2 separate regions of the Homo sapiens genome follow, and region 1 is linked to region 2. Evidence: promoter capture Hi-C in 16 types of primary human blood cells and fetal thymus (Javierre and others, 2016). All regions are on one chromosome and are shown on one strand. Each heading gives the region's core, a stretch centred on a gene start or on the middle of the fragment in contact. The rest is flanking DNA. Distances are from core to core; before and after follow the strand shown.

Evidence for each region. The method cuts DNA at HindIII sites, captures the fragments that hold promoters and counts their contacts. A CHiCAGO score of 5 or more calls a contact.
Region 1: a fragment that was not itself captured here is called in contact with the fragment with the promoter of DNAJA1 in region 2 in 1 of 17 cell types (fetal thymus); the score reaches 6.9 in fetal thymus.

What each region holds. Positions count from the first base shown.
Region 1 is chr9:34,121,761-34,126,063 of GRCh38, reverse strand. DCAF12 (DDB1 and CUL4 associated factor 12) reads left to right here. Exons shown (of 9, transcript NM_015397.4): 2 at 787-1,041. Among named protein-coding and RNA genes, the nearest start is that of DCAF12, 2.8 kb to the left of the region's middle. The HindIII fragment of the contact is 2,026 bases long and covers 1,664-3,689 here.
Region 2 is chr9:33,021,891-33,026,522 of GRCh38, reverse strand. DNAJA1 (DnaJ heat shock protein family (Hsp40) member A1) reads right to left here and starts at 1,250. Exons shown (of 9, transcript NM_001539.4): 1 at 1,140-1,250; 2 at 1-48. The coding sequence starts at 38. It also overlaps a transcript of APTX not described here. RefSeq lists enhancers at 600-669, 626-1,220, 1,198-1,492, 1,815-2,410 and silencers at 770-909, 1,190-1,339. The HindIII fragment of the contact is 3,848 bases long and covers 301-4,148 here.

The DNA of each region.
Region 1 (4,303 bases), core at 1,427-3,926, 1.1 Mb before region 2:
GAAACCGAAGTTAAGGGAATCGGAAACAAACTCTGGTAGAGTGAACTCTACCTTCCATGGGCCCTAGGAAGCTGGGATGATTGCGTCCCTCCTGGAAGAAGGAAGTAGTCTCCCTATATGTATACCCAACCCTGAGCTGGGCCTTTCGGCGTTTGGACCCCAAAAGAAACAACAGTTCCCAGGTATCATCTCTATGCCGCCCCCTTTGGAGGGGAAGGCCTTCTTGGACATAGATATGGCCTCTGATTTCCCGGGGGCCTACTACCCCGTTGGCGGTTGATTTTTCGAATTCTGCAACTGCCTGGAGCGCGGGCATGATGACAGAGGAACGGTCATTGATGATGCATCCCTGGAAGACCTGGGAGCCAGGTCTGGCTCCTTGGACTGTATCTTCCGTGCTCCAGTGGGAGTACAGACTGAGAGGGAGAAGGGGGCTGGGTAGAGATGCAGCCCATGTCGGTATGGGAATCACTCTACCTCTCATTTCCTTCAATCTTTCACTCCTAAAATGTCTAGTAAACCTTTTAGTCTGTTCTATTCTGCATTCATTCCCTTGACTTTCAGCCCTTGTAATTCACATTGGTAAGTTTGACTGTGAGCAACATCTTTTTAATGTTGGAAGAGTTAAACGACTTTCTGGATTGAGATTCTTGTTCTCTTGTGTTTGTATTTGTGTTGTTTGTAAATTCTGCAGTATGAGTTATGAGTTGGTGATTTCTGTAATACAGTAGGATCTGTTCTGAAGAAGAGTAGCCAAAGCCCTGATTTCTAATGTTGTTTCCACAGTTTGGCTGGGATCACTCGCTTCACAAAAGGAAAAGACTTCCTCCTGTGAAGAGATCCTTAGTATACTACTTGAAGAACCGGGAAGTCAGGCTACAGAATGAAACCAGCTACTCTCGAGTGTTGCATGGTTATGCAGCACAGCAACTTCCCAGTCTCCTGAAGGAGAGAGAGTTTCACCTTGGGACCCTTAATAAAGTGTTTGCATCTCAGTGGTTGAATCATAGGCAAGTGGTGTGTGGCACAAAATGCAACACGGTAAGTGCCTGGGGGGATGTGACCTCTCTCCTAGGTCGTGGATATATTGCTCCACTTGCTCTAGAACCTCTGCTAGTTTTCCCGTCTGTTTCTTTTAGGAGGGACTTGCCTTACTCTCCTTTCCATTCTTTCCCGTTGGTGACTTCTTCCTCTTTTCGTGTTCCTTTTTTCACTCATACATTTCTTTTCTGATAAGTCCTCAAAGGAGTGTATTTCTTCAGGCCCTCTCTGGATGTGCTGCTTCTAGAGGGTTGTTTGTTTGTTTGTTTGTTTTTGCCTCATATTTTTATGCTGGTTTTTAAGTCATAGGCCTCAAAGGAAAGATTTAAGAAATAATGATGCTTAGAGCATCATTCAGGATACATAATAGTGAAAACAGCCTAAGAACGTATGTCGAAGTATTTAAAATAGCACACTTGGCTGTTTTTTAGTGAACAGAATCTAAAAATGTATAAACTGAAATATGAGAAATACATGAACTGTTTCCTATAAGGAAGGCAGGGAATGTGTGTCTGGTAGTATATTTCAGGGTATAAGCATTAGCTCTTTGGAAAGTAGCCTTTTTAAGAGTGAATAGAAAGACAGTTATAAATGAATGAAGTGAAAAATTTCTCAGTAAGCTTTGTAACCAACCCAATTATAGGCCAGGATAAAATAAGTCAAAGAGCAGAAACGTTTGGAATAGAGTCCACGAATAGCATGATGTCACAAGACTGGCAAATGAAAAGAGGCAGGGCCTAGGGCCTAGGGGTGGGAAATGATTACGCCCAGCCCTCCCTCGGTTTTCACCTCCCCTGTGTGAATGGACAAGTAATGTCATAATGTGTGAGTAAATTGACCCTGGAATGAAACACATTTTGGATCATTAAAAGAGAGAAGATTGCTCTAGATCAAGAAAGTCTTAAGTACTAGGAGAAGTGTCTGTTTATAAAGGACATAGGCAAAAATTTAAACAGTTTTAAGGAAGGAAATAATACCATGGTGGTTGGTCTGTTTATAAAGGACATAGGCAAAAATTTAAACAGTTTTGAGGAAGGAAATAATACCATGGTGGTTGGGGCCAACCTTTCGTTTCCTCTTCTGTTGAGGAGTCGCTTGTCTTACCCAGAAGCCTTTCAAAACTAAGTGGTGGCAACGGGCCTCCACAGAACTTCCTTTTCTTGGTCTCTCCAGCTGCCCACTCGTGGTTAAGAACTGTCATCCTTGTCACTTGGAGTAGAAAAAGAGTCTCCTGCTTGGAAGAGTTCATTCCACTCCCCGCACGTGCATCATAGTGTTTAGCCTAGCAAATATTACTGAATTGTAAACTGAATTAATCATCATAGCCTCTTGCTTGTTGAATTTATTGACACTATTTTGAAGGCGAGCATAATAAGTAATAATTTAACCTACTCTTAATTCCTACCTCTTTCTGTCTTCCTAATCCTCATAACCTAGTGTTTGGGGCAAGGGGAGCTGTTTTCATTTTATAGTTAGTATTTGTTTGTTTTTGCTTAGCTTCCAGAACCAAAGCAGGGAACTAGGAATAGTGCTCTTCTCTGAACTTTGTGACATTGGGCAAATGATTCCCTTATTTGTGCTTTTGTTTTTGCATCTGCAAAATGGGAGTGATAATATCTGGTGCTAAGGTGTCTGCATGCATCTGGGAAATATTCTGAGTGAGCAATATCTTACTTATTTAAAAGTACTAGTAGCGGTAAAAATGATTTCCATAACCTTTTCCCACAATTTGAAGAGAGGAAAATTATTTAAAAATTGGAATTGTCTTTGGATAATGTGTGAAGATTTCAGAGGTGGGAGAGATTATGTTGTATTCTCAATAGGAAAGTTTTGATGTAGAATGTCCCTGTGCTGTGGGCTAACAATCAAACTAGGGTAGTCATTCAATCCCCAGATTTCTTGGCCCCAGCTAGCACAGCAGTAACAGCAAGGATAGCCACTGTTGTTTTTATCATTAATAACAATAAAGTCATATTTTTACTCAACTGCTTAAGTAGAGGTGGTATAACCTTAATTAGAACATGGATCTGGCAGCTGGGATGGGTTAGGTATATGTTCATGGTTTAGACTTACGCAAATTCAGATTGGCTGCGGAGCCAGACAGAAAAGCTAAGTGAAGAAAAGTTTGCTAGGCGCAAGACAGTAAGGAGTAGTAGGGGCTGCAAAGAACTACAGAAGGCATTCTTGACTTTAACCAACTGTTGCCGTGTAGGAATTTGAGCCTAGTGTTAAAAAGATTTTCTTTCGCAGGGCAAGGTGGCTCACACCTGTAATCCCAGCACTTTGGAAGGCCAAGGCGGGCGGATCACCTGAGGTCAGGAGTTCGAGACCAGCCTGGCCAACATGGTGAAACCCTGTTTCTACAGAAGTACAAACAAATTAGCTGGGCATGATGGTGGGTGCCTGTAATCCCAGCTACTCGGAAGGCTGAGGCAGGAGAATTGCTTGAACCCGGGAGGCGGAGGTTGTAGTGAGCTGAGATTGTGCCATTCTACTCCAGCCTGGGCAACAGAGTGAGACTCCGTCTCAAAAAAAAAAAAAAAAAAAAATTGATACTAATGTCTTGAACCTATATAACTGGAAAGATGGCAGGGTGAATGTTAAGGAACAGATTTGGGTTTTGTCCTTTTCATCAATTAGTTGAAGCTTGGCAGAGAGTAAGGATTGAAGTTAATGATTTGGCAGTCATTTATGTAGAAGGAATTATTGAAATTGTTACATTATCATGGGAAAGACAGTAGAGAGCAGGCATTCCTGGCTTGAGTTGTGTAAACTTTCCCTAAAATTGCAAAGTTTTGATTATATGTGTACTTTCTGGGCAAGATTTTGGGGGGGTGGTGTGGGAAGTCGTTCTTAGTTTTTGTCCTTAGATTTTGAAAGAGAGTACTATGAGCCAAAAATGGTTAAGAACCACTGATACTGACAGATAAGCTAAGGAGAGAACCTTGGAAAACATGTACATTTACAGGGCAAGAAGAACTGCTGCGGGGGAGCAGGGAACTCAGGAAAACCGGGAGAATACAGAAAAGAATTCAAGAAAGGAGGACTTTATTTTTGTTTGTTTGCTTTTTTGGTTTTTTTGAGACAGAGTCTCGCTATGTCACCAGGCTGGAGTGCAGTGGCGCGATCTCAGCTCACTGCAACCTCTGCCTCCTGGGTTCAATCGATTCTCCCGCCTCAGCCTCCTGAGTAGCTGGGATTACAGGTACCTGCCACCACACCCAGCTAATTTTTGTATTTTTAGTAGAGATAGGGTTTCACC
Region 2 (4,632 bases), core at 1-2,500:
ACCCCCAAAACATCGTAGTAAGTTGTTTCTTTCACCATCTTCTACTGCCTGAAATAAGAAAATGCAACTTTAACCGGCTTTCAACTGGTAGCTTTTAATAAAAAAGAGAGCTAAGGCCGAGCAATCTCTTTGCAAAATCCGATTATAAGAACACCACCTTCCCTAAATTTCACCAAAAAGGTAACAATTCCTGCGATAATTCAGCTATAAACTCGAACAGACAAAACAAATAATCATTATCGGGAAATAATCTGAGAGCCGCCTTCTAGCAGCTGGTTCCAATTTTCCTACACCAAAGCTTCCATACTAATATAACACAACTATTATCTGGATTCTTCCCGTTTGCCCTAGAGGCGGTGACAGTTGTAACCAAAAGAAGCACTGATATGTTCAGTCTACCGGTCATTACACTATCACTGTCTTTGGCAAATCTGATAAACTCCATATACTCTCCAGAAAAAGACGTCTGGGCACACAGTGGTGGGGGGGAGTGGTTTATAGAACAGGTTACTGGCTCCACACAGCAAGCCCTCCACCGCCCACGGCTTACAGCTTCTCCAGCCGAATCCCTCTCGCCCCTCAGGCTGGCAGAGTTTACCTGCCAGGTTTCCCCTTGCACTTGGCGCTGACCGATTTCCTTCCTTTCTCCCTCCCACCCTGGACCCAAGTGGCGGTGGGGAAAGCCCAGCCCTCAACAAACAAAGGGAGGGGAAACAGAGAAAGCGAAACCAAAAGCCGCAGTCTCCGCCCGGCTCCCCCCGCAGCCCCTCGCCCCTGCCTCCCTGTGCGCGTGCGCAGGGTCGCCAACCCCACTCCCCCCCCCCACCCCGAGCGAGCACGGACGGGGAGGGGGGCCGCGGGGGCGCGCACGGAGGGGCAGCCGAAGACAGTAGCTCCTTGGAGATCCCAGGCTGGGGAAGGAGGGAGGTCTAGGAAAGGTCTCGGGCCCATTCACTGTGCGTGCCGGGGATGGGTTGCCAGGGCACCACACCAGCCCTCCAAAAGGGAAATCGTGGGCCCAGGAACTGACAGCGGTCCTACCCACGCGGCCAACTGCCTCCCGACCGCGGCTCCATCGGTTTCCCGGCGCCAATGGCGCCAGCCAGGGGACTAGGGGCAGCGCGAGGGCTCAAACTCACCGGTGCGGGCTGAGGCCGGTGTGTGAGGGAGCGGGAAGGAGCGCCGAGCTGTGCGCAGCCGGGGTAGTTACCGCTCCTCCGCCTCTCACCGAGCGTTCTGGAAAGTTCCGCCCGGCGCGCCGCAGCCGTCCTCTTTTGTAGCCGAACCCGGGCGCGTCACCCGCCGGAAGTCCCGCCCTTCTCGGCCGCTGCCACCGCCCCGCCGTTACCTGGGCAACGGCGCGGGGGCGCACGGGTCGGGAGGAGCTGCGCCGAAAGGCCTTGTGGGTGTTGGTGCTAGCGCGGCTTCCCGGCGCTCGTGGAATCTTCTGGAGCCCTTTTCTCCACTCAGCGAGCCTGAGAGTGCGGAAGTCTCCGGCTGGTGGGGCATGGCCCAGGAGCACTGCAAGTCCTAGGGTTCCCAAACCTGTGGGGTGGCCGCCTGGGCCCGCGAGGGCGGGAAGGGCTCGAGTACAGTGACCCAGCGGGAGCTGTGTGTGAACGGGAAAGCTCTTGGAACAGTCTTGCCCCCCCCCCCCCCCCTCTTACGGGCGCCTCTTCTCTTTTTGGGAACGTGGCGAGCAAAAAATGCTTGAGCCAGGTGGGTCTAGTCCCCAGACCAATAGCATAGGCCTTGGGTCTTGCTGTTTTTCACGCGTGGTCCAAGGCGGCATAATTAATCAAATTGTGAAGTTGTTAAGGCTTTTTGTGCAAGTCCAGGCCCCTAGACACATGTTATCTGCCCTGGACCTCGCTGATTCGTGCAGATTGAGCTCAGTGTGTCTGGGACTGAGCTAAACAGTGAGACGTTTGGACCGTCTTTGATGTACAGAGGGCCGTGGACTCCTCTGGTCAGGTTTTCACCCAGTTTGGCTACAGAGTAGCCGCAAGAGTGTCTGACTAAAACAATTTGTTTAATTATTTGACCTCACTTTTAAATCCTACGGGTCAGGGAACCTGGATGTACAATCTGCAACGTAAGACCTCGGACTTGAAAATGGTACCACGGGGGCTTAATGGGAATTGGGGTCCGCTTCTTTATCCAGGGACACAGCAGGTATGTCAGTATCTAGCACCAAGAAAGATGGAGTTTGCCACGCTCGGTGGCTCACGTGTGTAATCCCAGCACTTTGGGACGCCAGCGTGGGCTGATTGCGTGAGCTCAGAAGTTTGATACCAGCCCAAGCAACATGGTGAAACCCCGTCTCGATTTAAAACAAAAACAGAACTGGAGATGCAGAGTTGAAAAGCCCCAGTTAGACTTTAGTGAGAAGCCAAACAAGTCAACAGACTGCCAGAGAAACCATGAGGTAGAAGTCAGTAGGGGAGAGCCTCCTATATTAACCTGATAGATCAGAGAGAATTTCTTTGGGAAAGTGGCAATTGAGCTGAGTTTTGAAAATGGGAGGAGAGCAGTGGACAAAGCACAGGGGAAGGCTATACTAAGGTGTGGAAGAATATGATGTTTTTAGGAAATTGCAACTAATTGGATATAGCCATAGCTAAGGGAGCTAGAATAGCCGGAGGTGAGGCTTCAAAGCTAGTTAGGGCATGCCTTTGTCTGTTGGTATATATGCTACGCTAAGAATTTTGAACTTTATCCTTGGAAGCATCCTCATGCTGCCTCTTCAGCCTTTTCTCTTTCATTAATTTTAACTGTGCATTCCAGTCACAGAACTATCCGCAGTTTCCCATATACGCCTTTTCACCTTTGTATGCTTTTGCATTGGCTGACAGACACCTGATTTTTTTCAATCTTAGGTGTTGCCTTCTCAAGTATCACCTCTGGTATAAAGTTTTTTGTTTAAACCAACCGTTAATAAACGTCTAATATTACCAGGCAGTGTACTAGGGCTTTGTAATACAAAAATCACGTAAGTCAGGCCGGGCGCCGTGCCTCACACCTGTAATCCCAGCACTTTGGGAGGCCAAGGTGGCGGATCACCTGAGATCCGGAGTTCTAGACCAGCCTGGCCAACTTGGTGAAACCCTTCTCTACTAAAAATAGAAACAATTAGCCAGGTATGGTGGCACGTGCCTGTAGTCCCACCTTCTCAGGAGGCTGTGGCAGGAGAATCGCTTGAACCTGGGAGGCGGAGGTTGCAGTGAGCAGAGATGGTGCCGCTATACTCCAGCCTGGTTGACAGAGCAAGACTCTGTCGAGTCTCAGAAAAAAAAAAAAATCACATAAGTCGTGGTCCCTGCCTTCAAGGAGCTCACAACATAGGGAACCAGAAACAAACAGTTGAGTGTTAAATGCTAATAAAGGAAGAGTAGGGGGTGCATGGTGGCTCAAGCCTGTAATCCCAGCACTTTGGGAGGCCAAGGCAGGCGGATCCCTTGAGTCCCGGAGTTTGAGACCAGCCTGAGCAACATAATAAGACCTCGTTTCTACAAAAATTAGAGTTAGTGTGGTGGTGTGGGCCTGTACTCCCAGCTACTTGGGAGGCTGAGGCAGGAGGATGGACCTGGGAGGTCAAGGCTGCAGTGAGTGGTGATTGCACCACTGAACCTCAGCCTGGACGACAGAGCAATACCCTGTCTAAAAACGAAACTAACAAAAAAGTTAACACTTTTAAGAAGCATTCTTACGTAAAATAAAATAAAAAAACTGGCAATAACTTTGTATGTGGTCTTCGTTTGTACAGAAATGGGATCATTATACAAGCTGTTTACAGCTTGCCCTTTTCACTTTGTCATCTTACTATGCCAGGATAAATAACTAATCTGCCTTGTTATTTTTAATGGCGTAGTATGTAGGCACCGTAATTTATTCCCCTACTGATGAATATTTCAGCAATTTCCAGTGTTTTACAAACTGCTGCAGAGAAATTAGCAAATACAGCTTTGAGTACTCATGCAAGTATTTCTGTTGGATGGACAGCTAGAATTGAAATTGCTGAGTCAACATGAATGTAGATTTAAAATTGTAATAAATAAGTTTCCATACTGGTTTGTAACTGCTTCCAGCAGTGTGTGAGTGGGCCTTGCCAATATGAGGGCCTTTTGTTGTTAAATCTTTGCTAAGCTTGGAGATAAAAAGTGATATCTTATTGTTTCGAGTTTCTTTGTTAGTAAGTTTAACCATGTTTTAAATGTTTACTGACTCTCCTGTCAACTGTTCATATTATTTTACCATTTTTCTGTGGTGTAATTCCACTATTTTAATAATAGCCCTTTTAGGGGTAGATATTAGTCTGTCATGTGTTACAATTGTTTTCTTTAGTATATTCTTCGCTTTTTACTTAGTATCTATATATATATTTTTCGGCCATATAAAGATTTTAATTTTTATGTAGATAAATTGTGACTCTTCCTTTTTGGCCTTTTTCTTCTCTCCACCTTCCCCTTCATCAGTCCAGCATTATAAATATAAATCTGTTGTCCCAGGTTTACAGGTTAGGTCTAGTACTTTCATTGTTTCCCTTTTTTTTTTTTTTTTTTAAATTAACAGCCTTGATGTGTTGCCCAGGCTGGCCTCGAACTCCTAGGCTCAAGTGATTCTCCTGCCTCA